Linked DNA regions of Homo sapiens: regions 1 and 2 are each linked to region 3. The links are contacts of gene promoters, found by promoter capture Hi-C in blood cells and fetal thymus (Javierre and others, 2016). All regions are on one chromosome and are shown on one strand. The core of a region is centred on a gene start or on the middle of the fragment in contact, and the rest is flanking DNA. Distances in the headings are between cores, read along the strand shown.

The links. Contacts are between HindIII fragments. The CHiCAGO score rates a contact against its expected background, and 5 or more counts as called.
Region 1: a contact is called between a fragment that was not itself captured here and the fragment with the promoter of IHH in region 3, in 1 of 17 cell types (total CD8 T cells). The highest score is 5.4, in total CD8 T cells.
Region 2: a fragment that was not itself captured here is called in contact with the fragment with the promoter of IHH in region 3 in 8 of 17 cell types (erythroblasts, naive CD4 T cells, naive B cells and 5 more); the score reaches 9.1 in erythroblasts.

What each region holds. Positions count from the first base shown.
Region 1 is chr2:219,399,568-219,402,267 of GRCh38, forward strand. It overlaps DNPEP-AS1 (DNPEP antisense RNA 1), which reads left to right. Exons shown (of 4, transcript NR_183823.1): 3 at 756-837. It also overlaps a transcript of DNPEP not described here. Among named protein-coding and RNA genes, the nearest start is that of DNPEP-AS1, 12 kb to the left of the region's middle. The HindIII fragment of the contact is 3,586 bases long and covers 1-2,700 here.
Region 2 is chr2:219,360,061-219,363,017 of GRCh38, forward strand. LOC105373883 (a long non-coding RNA gene) reads right to left here. Exons shown (of 2, transcript XR_923917.3): 2 at 2,442-2,748. Among named protein-coding and RNA genes, the nearest start is that of DNPEP, 26 kb to the right of the region's middle. RefSeq lists an enhancer at 2,503-2,552. The HindIII fragment of the contact is 2,100 bases long and covers 339-2,438 here.
Region 3 is chr2:219,059,291-219,062,271 of GRCh38, forward strand. IHH (Indian hedgehog signaling molecule) reads right to left here and starts at 1,631. Exons shown (of 3, transcript NM_002181.4): 1 at 863-1,631. The coding sequence starts at 1,177. LOC124906120 (a long non-coding RNA gene) reads left to right here and starts at 2,403. Exons shown (of 3, transcript XR_007088092.1): 1 at 2,403-2,981. The HindIII fragment of the contact is 5,239 bases long and covers 61-2,981 here.

The DNA.
Region 1 (2,700 bases), core at 1-2,500, 340 kb after region 3:
GTGCCGATGGGTGGGCTGCCCTTGAACTCAGTTGTTGGGCAACGTGGAGAGAATAGGGCACCAGACAGGGTTGTTTGGAAAGATTAAATCCTCCAAAGTTAGCCAAGATGATGATGAGTATTATTCTGTTAAGCCACTTGCTCGAGGTCTGGTTTGTTAGCAGACTGAGAGCAGGGGACCCTATTTCATTCATCTCTTTATCCCCATAATGCCTAAGCCAGTGCGTGGCTCATGGAAGGCTGGTGCCTAGGAACGTGTCTGCACTGGCTGGCCACAGAACTAGACAGGCCCCGGTTACCTTGTGGTAGCCATTGAGCCAGCTGTTGGGGACGAACATGATGGAGAGGCTCCGAGCCATGGTGACCTGCTCACCTCCTCCCAAGGCTGGAGTGGACAGGCCTGAACCGTGTGCCTTTTTTGCCGGATCCTTCCCCTGCCTTGGGCCCCAACTTGCAGGGCTCTCCGACATCCCTAGAGCCCATTATGACATCACCAGTGCAATTTGAAGCAGTAACATCCTCAGGGCACCCCAAGCCACAGGCTGACGTATGGTGGCCAACGTCTAAATGTTGACACCTGACCTGGGGGAGGGGTGTCTTGTATTCTGGGAGGCTAAGAATAGAGACTTTCTTCTTTCCTTGAAGAACTCCTCCCTCATTCTCTATTTTGGCCCCTTTGTTTGCTTCCTGCCAGCCAGTGCTCTAATTATTTCACTTATCCGTGTTTACTTTTTTATTATCTGTCTCTCCCATCAGAATGTGAGCTCCAGGAGGACACGACCCTCCCTGTTTCCTTGTTCCCTGCTGTGTCCCAGTACCAAGCACAGTGTCTGATATAGTAAGTGCTCGATAAAGACTTTCTGGGGCATGAAGACATGAACGAGAGGCTTCACTCACTCTGGTCATCCATTCATTTATTCATTCGAAATGCATGCCTGGTGCATCTGTTGTGGGCCAGGCTCTTGTCCACCTGAATAACTCCCATTTCTGCCCTGAGAAAGCTGCCAGCCTGGTGGCGGGTTGCTGGAGACACATCCTTTGTGTCATGCACTCTGACAGGGGCTATCTCTGAGCTCTAACAGAGATGGGGTTGCTTGGAGGAGCACGCTGTGGCAATGACAGGCTCTTAAACCAGAGCAATGGTATCTCATCTAGCAGGATTTCCCCCGCCTGATTCAGGGAGCCCCATCTGCCCCGAGGCCTCTGCCTGTGCTGACAACCACTGCTGCTTGTTTCTGCTAATATTGCAGCAGGGTGCTTCTATAGAAGCAATCTATAAAACACCATTTACAGCCATAACTGAACCACAAAAATCAATCCCGAACGCTCACTCCCATCAACAAACATGCTTTGAGGGCCTCCTGGGTGTGGGGCACAGTTTGATGGTGCCCTGGGAGTCAGAGGGATGAGCAAAATGAGGACTCTGCCCCTGGGGGAGGAGGGGTTTCGAATCTCCCAAGGGAGACAGGCCACATGGGAATGGGATAATTACTGGACTCGGCAAAATCGTGGATGCCAAGTAGAGAATGAAGGCTCTAGAACTGTGCTGGCTAGTACAGCAGCCACCAGCTATGCAGGGCTATTGAGCCCTTGACATGTGGCTACACCTTCAAGTACCTCTCACATTGAGAAATGCTATACCTATAAAACAATGTGCCACTGGATTATGTACAAAATGTATGAAATATCTCCATTTTAAGATATTGCTTACAGGTTAAAATGATAGCATTTTGGATACATTGTTAAATATACTATCATTGCTATATTAGTAACATTAATTTCACCTGTTTTTATTACTTTTTTTTTTTTGATACAAAGTCTCGCTCTGTCACCCAGGCTGGAGTGCAGTGGCACCATCTTGGCTCACTGCAATCTTCCCCTCCTGGGTTCAAGCAATTCCCCTGCCTCAGCCTCCTGAGTAGCTGGGATTATAGGTGCCTGCCACCACGCTTGGCTAATTTTTGCATTTCTAGTAGAGATGAGGTTTCTCCATGTTGGCCAGGCTGGTCTCGAACTCCTGACCTCAAGTGATCCACCCGCCTCGGCCTCCCAAAGCGCTGGGATTACAGGCGTGAGCCACTGCGCCCGACCTGTTTTTATTACGTTTTAAAATTGCAGCTACTAGAACATTCAAAATGACATACATGGCTTCCATTGTATTTCTGTGAGACAGCACTGGTCTAGGAGTAGAGGACCCAGCAGGGCACCAATAGCCTGTGTGACTGCAGCTGCAAGAATTCTGAGGAAATGGGACAATGAGGAACCTGCAAGGGGAAACTGAAGATGGGTGTGGGGAGGACAGTTGAAAAGTTTGATCATGAAGGGAAGGAGGGAGGCGGCAGTTCCGGGAGGCCACCAGGGTCCCAGGGACAATCAGTAATAGATGTTCACCAGGTCTTCCTCTCCCTCCTGCCATCTTCCAGAAAGATAGACCCTGGGCACTTGCAGACACCCCCCCACCACCCACCCCCTGCACACCCCTGGCAGTGCTCTAGAGTGAGCCTCCTTCATTTCAGTCCTTGGCAAGGGGGAGTGAGCCAGAGATGGCATTAAGCTGCATGTGGCTGCTAAGTCATGGTAAGTAACAGCCTTGGCCAGGCCATCCATTGCAAGGTGGGTTAAAAACACATCTCTCCTCCCTGACTGCCAGCTCTGGGCTCTGGGTAAAGGGCAATGGTGGGGAAGGAGAGATCAGGGATTC
Region 2 (2,957 bases), core at 139-2,638, 300 kb after region 3:
ACCATCATCTTTCTTTTATTTTTATTTTTGTAAATGTTTAATAGAGACAAGATCTTATGTTGCCTAGGCTGGTTTCAAACTTCCAGGGTCAAGTGAACCTCCTGCCTCAGTCTTACAAAGTGCTGGGATTACAGGCGTGAGCCACCATGCCCAGCTGGCCATCGTCTTTCACCTGTTACAGAAATTGAATCTCATCTAGTTGCCTGGAGTAACTAATGACTTGGGGTGTGTTCTAGGAGTCTGGGATTGTGTCTGGTGTACTGTAGGTGCTCAGTCGTTCTTGTTGAATATTTGTTGTTCCACTCTTGCCTCCCTGTAATCTCTTAAGCACCAGGAGAAGCTTTCCAAAATATAAATTAAAGCATGTTATTCCCTTGCTTAACACCATCCAATGGATCACCTCATTTACACTTTTGAATAAACGCTAAATTCCCGACCATGGCCTATGAGCCCCAACGTGATCTAGCCTTGCCTTCCTCTCCAGCCTCATTTCCTTCTCTCATCTTGCTCTCTCTGTTCCCAGCCTCCTTTCCATTCTTTGAACACCTGAGTCCTTCTCAAAGGCCATTTCTGCTTCTCCCCACCCTCCATTGTTATCTCTTTGTTCTAGTATAACCCTCCCCACCAAGTAGTTTCTGGTCCCTAGGAATAATTGTCACTTCATTACCTTCATGACTCTTACCACTGTCCATGACTTCTTCGTTTTTTGTTGTTGTTGTTGTTGTTGTTTGTTTGTTTTGTTTGTTTTGAGATGGAGTTTTTGCTCTGTTGCCCAGGTTGGAGCGCAATGACGATCTTGGCTCACTGCAACCTCTGCCTCTTGGGTTCAAGCAATTCTCTTGCCTCAGCCTCCCAAGTAGCTGGGATTGTAGGCGCCTGCCACCACACCCAGCTAATTTTTGTATTTTTATTAGAGATGAGGTTTCACCATGTTGGCCAGGCTGGTCTTGAACTCTTGACCTCAGGTGATCTACCTGCCTTGGCCTCCCAAAGTTCTAGGATTACAGATATGAGCCACCGCGGCCGATGGACTTCTTCCTTTGTTTACTTGTTTATTTGCGTCTCCCCACTGGAGTGTAAATTTCAAGAGGACAGAAGACATGTCTGTTTGATTTGCTATCACATCCTCAGTGTCTGGCTCAGGACCTAGCTCAGCCTGGATGCTCCAAAATGAAACAGATTTTGGGTCCTGAGGCCCCAGATGAAACACCTCTGCCTCAGTGCTCTTATCTGTTAGATGGGCAGCTCATCAGGGTGACTGTGAAAATGAAATGAGATGATGGATATAAAGCAGCCTCGTGTTGCACAAATGCATTGTGAGTTGAATTCTAGTTCCTTTCAGCTTCAGCCTCTCTGGGTTTGTAGATTTCGGCTATGCCCCAAGGTTTCAAGGTGAAAGACCTTGAAACCCAGAAGGGCAGAGAGGCCTGGTCTGGTAGAGAATCAGGAGCAGAATCCAGGAGACCTGCCTTACAGCTCACCAGGGGGAAGGTGTGAGACAGCCCACCTGACCCCAGGGAACAAAGGCTGCCCACCTTGATAGGGAGAGGGTGGGCCACCATGCCTGTGCCTCTTCTTGGATAGCCAGTGGGGATGGTGCTATCATTGCACTGAGGCCTGCAAGACTCAGGCCACCACCCTTTGTCGGGAAACAAGGTCTTCCCTCAAGGACAGGATCACCTCTGGTGGGAATCTCCTAGAGAAGAGGCAGCTCCTCAGGCCAGGCACGGTGGCTCACGCCTGTAATCCCAGCACTTTGGGAGGCCGAGGCGGGTAGATCACAAGGTCAGGAGTTCAAGACCAGCCTGGCCAACATGGTGAAACCCCGTCTCTACTAAAAGTACAAAAATTAGCTGGCCATGGTGGCATGTGCCTGTAGTCCCAGCTACTCTGGAGGCTGAGGCAGAAGAATTGCTTGAACCCGGGAGGCAGAGGTTGCAGTGAGCAGAGATTGTGCCACTGCATTCCAGCCTGGGTGACAGAGCAAAACTCCATCTCAAAAAAAAAAAAAAAAAGAGAGAGAAGAGGCAGCTCCTCCGAGATGGGTCAGAGCTCTATGGGGAGCCCCAGGTGGGCATCTAGATGGTGAAGAGCCCAAAGACTCTAGAAGTGGGTTCTCGGGACTTGCGCATGCGTACATGTGTTTATATGTGTATACATGTGTTTATATGTTTGTGCATGGGTGTTGTGTCCATGTGTTTATATGTGTGTGCATGTGTTTGTATGAATCAATGTGTACTGTATGCATGTGTGTTTGTGTGTGCGTATGTAGGTTTGTATGTGTGGGAGATGTATTTGTGTATGTAGATGGGATGTGTGTGTCAATGTGTATATGTGTACATGTAGTGTACTTGTATTCATTGTCTATTACTTTTTTTAAAAATCCAGTTTTAGCAAAGAATATCTATGGCTTATTGCTACATGACAAATTACCCCAAAGCTTAGTCGCTTAAACTATAAACATCTATTTCACAGTTTCTGTGGACTGGGAATCTGAGAGAGGCTTAGCTGGGTATTTTTGGTTCAGGGTCTCTCTTGAAGTTGCAGTGAAGATGTTACTCAGGGTTGGCTGTAGTCTTCTGAAGGCTTGCGTGGGGCTAGAGGATCCACTTTCAAGATGACTCACCCTCCTGGCAAGACGATGCTGGCTGTTGGCAGGAGGTCTCAGTTCCCTACCACATCAGCCTCTCCATATGGCTGCTTGAGTGCCTCATGACACAGCAGCTGGCTTCCTCTGGAGTGAGTGACCTGAGAGAGAGAGAGAACCAGGCAAAAGCCACAGTGTTTTTAAAACCTAGCTTTGGAAGTCCCATGCCATCATTTCTGCCATATTATACTGGCCACAGAGACCAACCCTGATACACTGTGGGAGGGACTACACAAAGGCATGAATTCCAAGAGGTAAGGATCACTGGAGGTCATCTTGTAGGATGGCTATCACATGCAGTATGTGCGTG
Region 3 (2,981 bases), core at 381-2,880:
AAGGGGGTGAAGGTCTCTCCCCTCGCGGACCTGGCTGCTGGGAAGGAATTTGCGCCTCTAAGCTTGGGTGGAGCGCGGGTCCTACTCCAGCATGCAGAGACTAGCGTCAGCCCTGGTCCCTGCCTCCCTCGGCATCTCAGCCCCTCTTTTCCACTCCTTCCCGTCCCCACCACCAAGCCCAGGAATCCCCTAAGCTCAGTCCCAGAGCCCGAAGGCCCCAATAACCCACCCTTCCACCGCAGTAGCACCCCTCAGCTCTCCGGACAGACACGTGGGCTCGCTGGGCAGGTTCCTTTTCCCACCTCCGCCTCCCGATTCAACTCTTCCTCGCTGTTCTTAACCCCAGACCCAGCCGGGACGCTGCTCCTGGAAGGGGCAGCCCGTAGAACCAAGAGCGCACAGGGAGGAAAGGCCGTGGTGACCCTACGCACCCAGAGATTCTTTGCCTCAGGGGTGCCGAAAAGTTTCAAAATGAAAGGGGCACAGCTGTGCAGAAGGTTAGGCCGGGAGGGACTGCGTGGGTCCTGGAGGCGCAGGAGGCAGCCGGGTAGAGGTACCTCCGGGTGCAGCGTCTGGCTGAGCTGCCAGTACTTTGGGGCAGAGGAGCCGCCGCCAACCTGCTGGGCTGTGGGGCTTGGCAGCGGGGAGCTCTTCTAGCAGTCTCCTCCGGGCTTGGGGATGCCGACACTCCTGCCTGGACCCCTGGCCAGCCCATCTTGGGCAGGAGGCAGCGGGGCTTGGCGAGAGGGGCAGGTGCCAGGGAGCGTGCCAGCCAGTCGAGAAAATGTGCCAGGGGGTGGGTAGGGCCGGGCAGGTGGCCGTGCTTCGGTGGCGGCGCGCTGGTAGGGCGGATCGCGCTCACCTGGGTCATGAGGCGGTCGGCGCCTGTGTTCTCCTCGTCCTTGAAGATGATGTCTGGATTGTAATTGGGGGTGAGCTCCTTGAAGCGCTCGGAGCTGCGAGCGATCTTGCCTTCATAGCGTCCGCTGGCGCCCAGGGTCTTCTCGGGCACATTGGGGCTGAACTGCTTGTAGGCGAGCGGCACGAGTTTGCGTGGCGGTCGCCGGCGGCTGCCCACCACCCGACCCGGCCCGCAGCCCCATGCCGCCGGCACCACCAGCAGCAGCAACAGGACCAGGCAGAAGTGCAGTCGGGGCCGGAGCCGGGCGGGAGACATGGCCGGGGAGCCCGGGGGAGCGGCGGGCGAGGTCTCCTGGTGGGCTGATGGGCAGGCGCGTCGACGGGAGCGCTGCGGGGGCTCAGGCGTCCGGGTGGCTCCGGGGGGCTCCAGGCGGGGGCGCCATGGGCGGCGTGGTGCGGCCAGGGCCGGCGGGACTCAAGTGCGGGGCGGGGGCCCAGGGCCCGAGCTGGTGGCGGCGCGCTGTCCCCCTCGGCGCCTCGACTCTGAGCTGCCGGGCTCGCCGGCCGCCAATAAATAGGCCGGCCCGTTTGTTTTGGCAACGCGGCGGCGGCGGGGGGCGGCGGGCGGCGGGGCTGCGGGCCGCCGGGCTGGGCTGGGCTGGCCGGGCCGGCGGGCTGCAGGGCCCCGCGGTTAGCACCCCGGCCCGGCGGTCAGGCGGCTCGGGCGGAGCGGGAGCTGCTGCCGTCTGCGGCGCAGCCCGGGGCCGAGTGAGAGGGGAAATGGAAGAGATCCGGGCTCGGGCCCCGCGCAGACCGCACCCTACCCATGTCCCTGCCTCCTGTGCGCTCGACAGCGAACCTGCAGCAAGGGCAGCACAGCCTCCTCCCCCTCGGGCGGGCGGCCCCGGCACTAGCCAGCCCTCGTCCCGCTCGCGCCTCCGCCGCGCGTCCGCCCGCCCGCTGCCCTCTGCGCCCCCTGCGCTGCCCGAGTTTGCCCTCCCCGCCTGGACGCGCCCCACCCCGCCCTGGCCTCGCCTACCGGCTCTTCGCGGCTCTGGGGTGCCCCGCCAGGCGCAAACCTCCCGGACAGGAGCTGCCACCCCCACGGAGACCGCAACCCACGGCGCGGCCGGACGCGAGGGGCGGGGGGCAGTGGCCGGACCGCACAGCCGCCTACGGTGTCCCCTGCGGGGAAGCAAACCCAAAAGGCAGGAGGCCACTCATAACCTGGTGCCCCACCCTGGCCCGGGCGACGCGCCCTTTCAGCTTGGTGGAGCTGGGTTCTGTATCAACCTGGTGCACATCCCACAGCCTGCCTGTCGGTGTCAAACTGGGGATGGGGAGTCTAGCCTTTTGAAGAGTCAAATAGGGGGTTTTAAGTTGGAAACACTGTTGAAAGTGACAATATGAAGTTGCAAAGGGATAGGTCAATATGCAGAGAAGGGTAGCTAAAATGGTGACGTCAACAGAATACCGAGGAACCCCGACTGACCATGTTAAAGAGGGGCAGCAAAGATCTCAGTAACGGGGGCTTGGTATGAATGCCAAAATGATGCAAAGCCACCGGAACTGCTAAATAATTACTTGGTTCTATATTACACATCTAAAAGAGCAGAGAATATGTAGAAACAACTAGGAACGTGAACATGTGTTATGTGTTTTTATATGACATTCGAGAAAGCTGAATGAATTAGGATCCCTTCTGCCAAAACAAGTAAAGGCAAGTGTGTTAAAAAGCAAACAAAAAACATCACCACCACAACACCAAACTATATGATTTGACTGTAATAGATTCTACAAATCCAATAAAGGTAGAAATGAAAAGATGAGAAATAAAAAGACTTAAAAATTCTCACTCAAATGCTATTAATACAATAGGTACCATTTTATTGGTACTTATATTCCTGAACATGGTAGTTATTAGATATTATTGTACTATGTCTTCTACTTGCATTATCTAATTTAAACTCGAAACGGCCAAAGGAGCTATTACTGTCCACATTTTACGAATGAAGATATTGAAGTTCAGAGAAGATGAACAACTTGCTAGTGGCTGAAAAGCAGGGATTGAAGCCCATGACTCTGGCCCAGCCCCAGTTTTTGCCCATGCAGGTGCATTG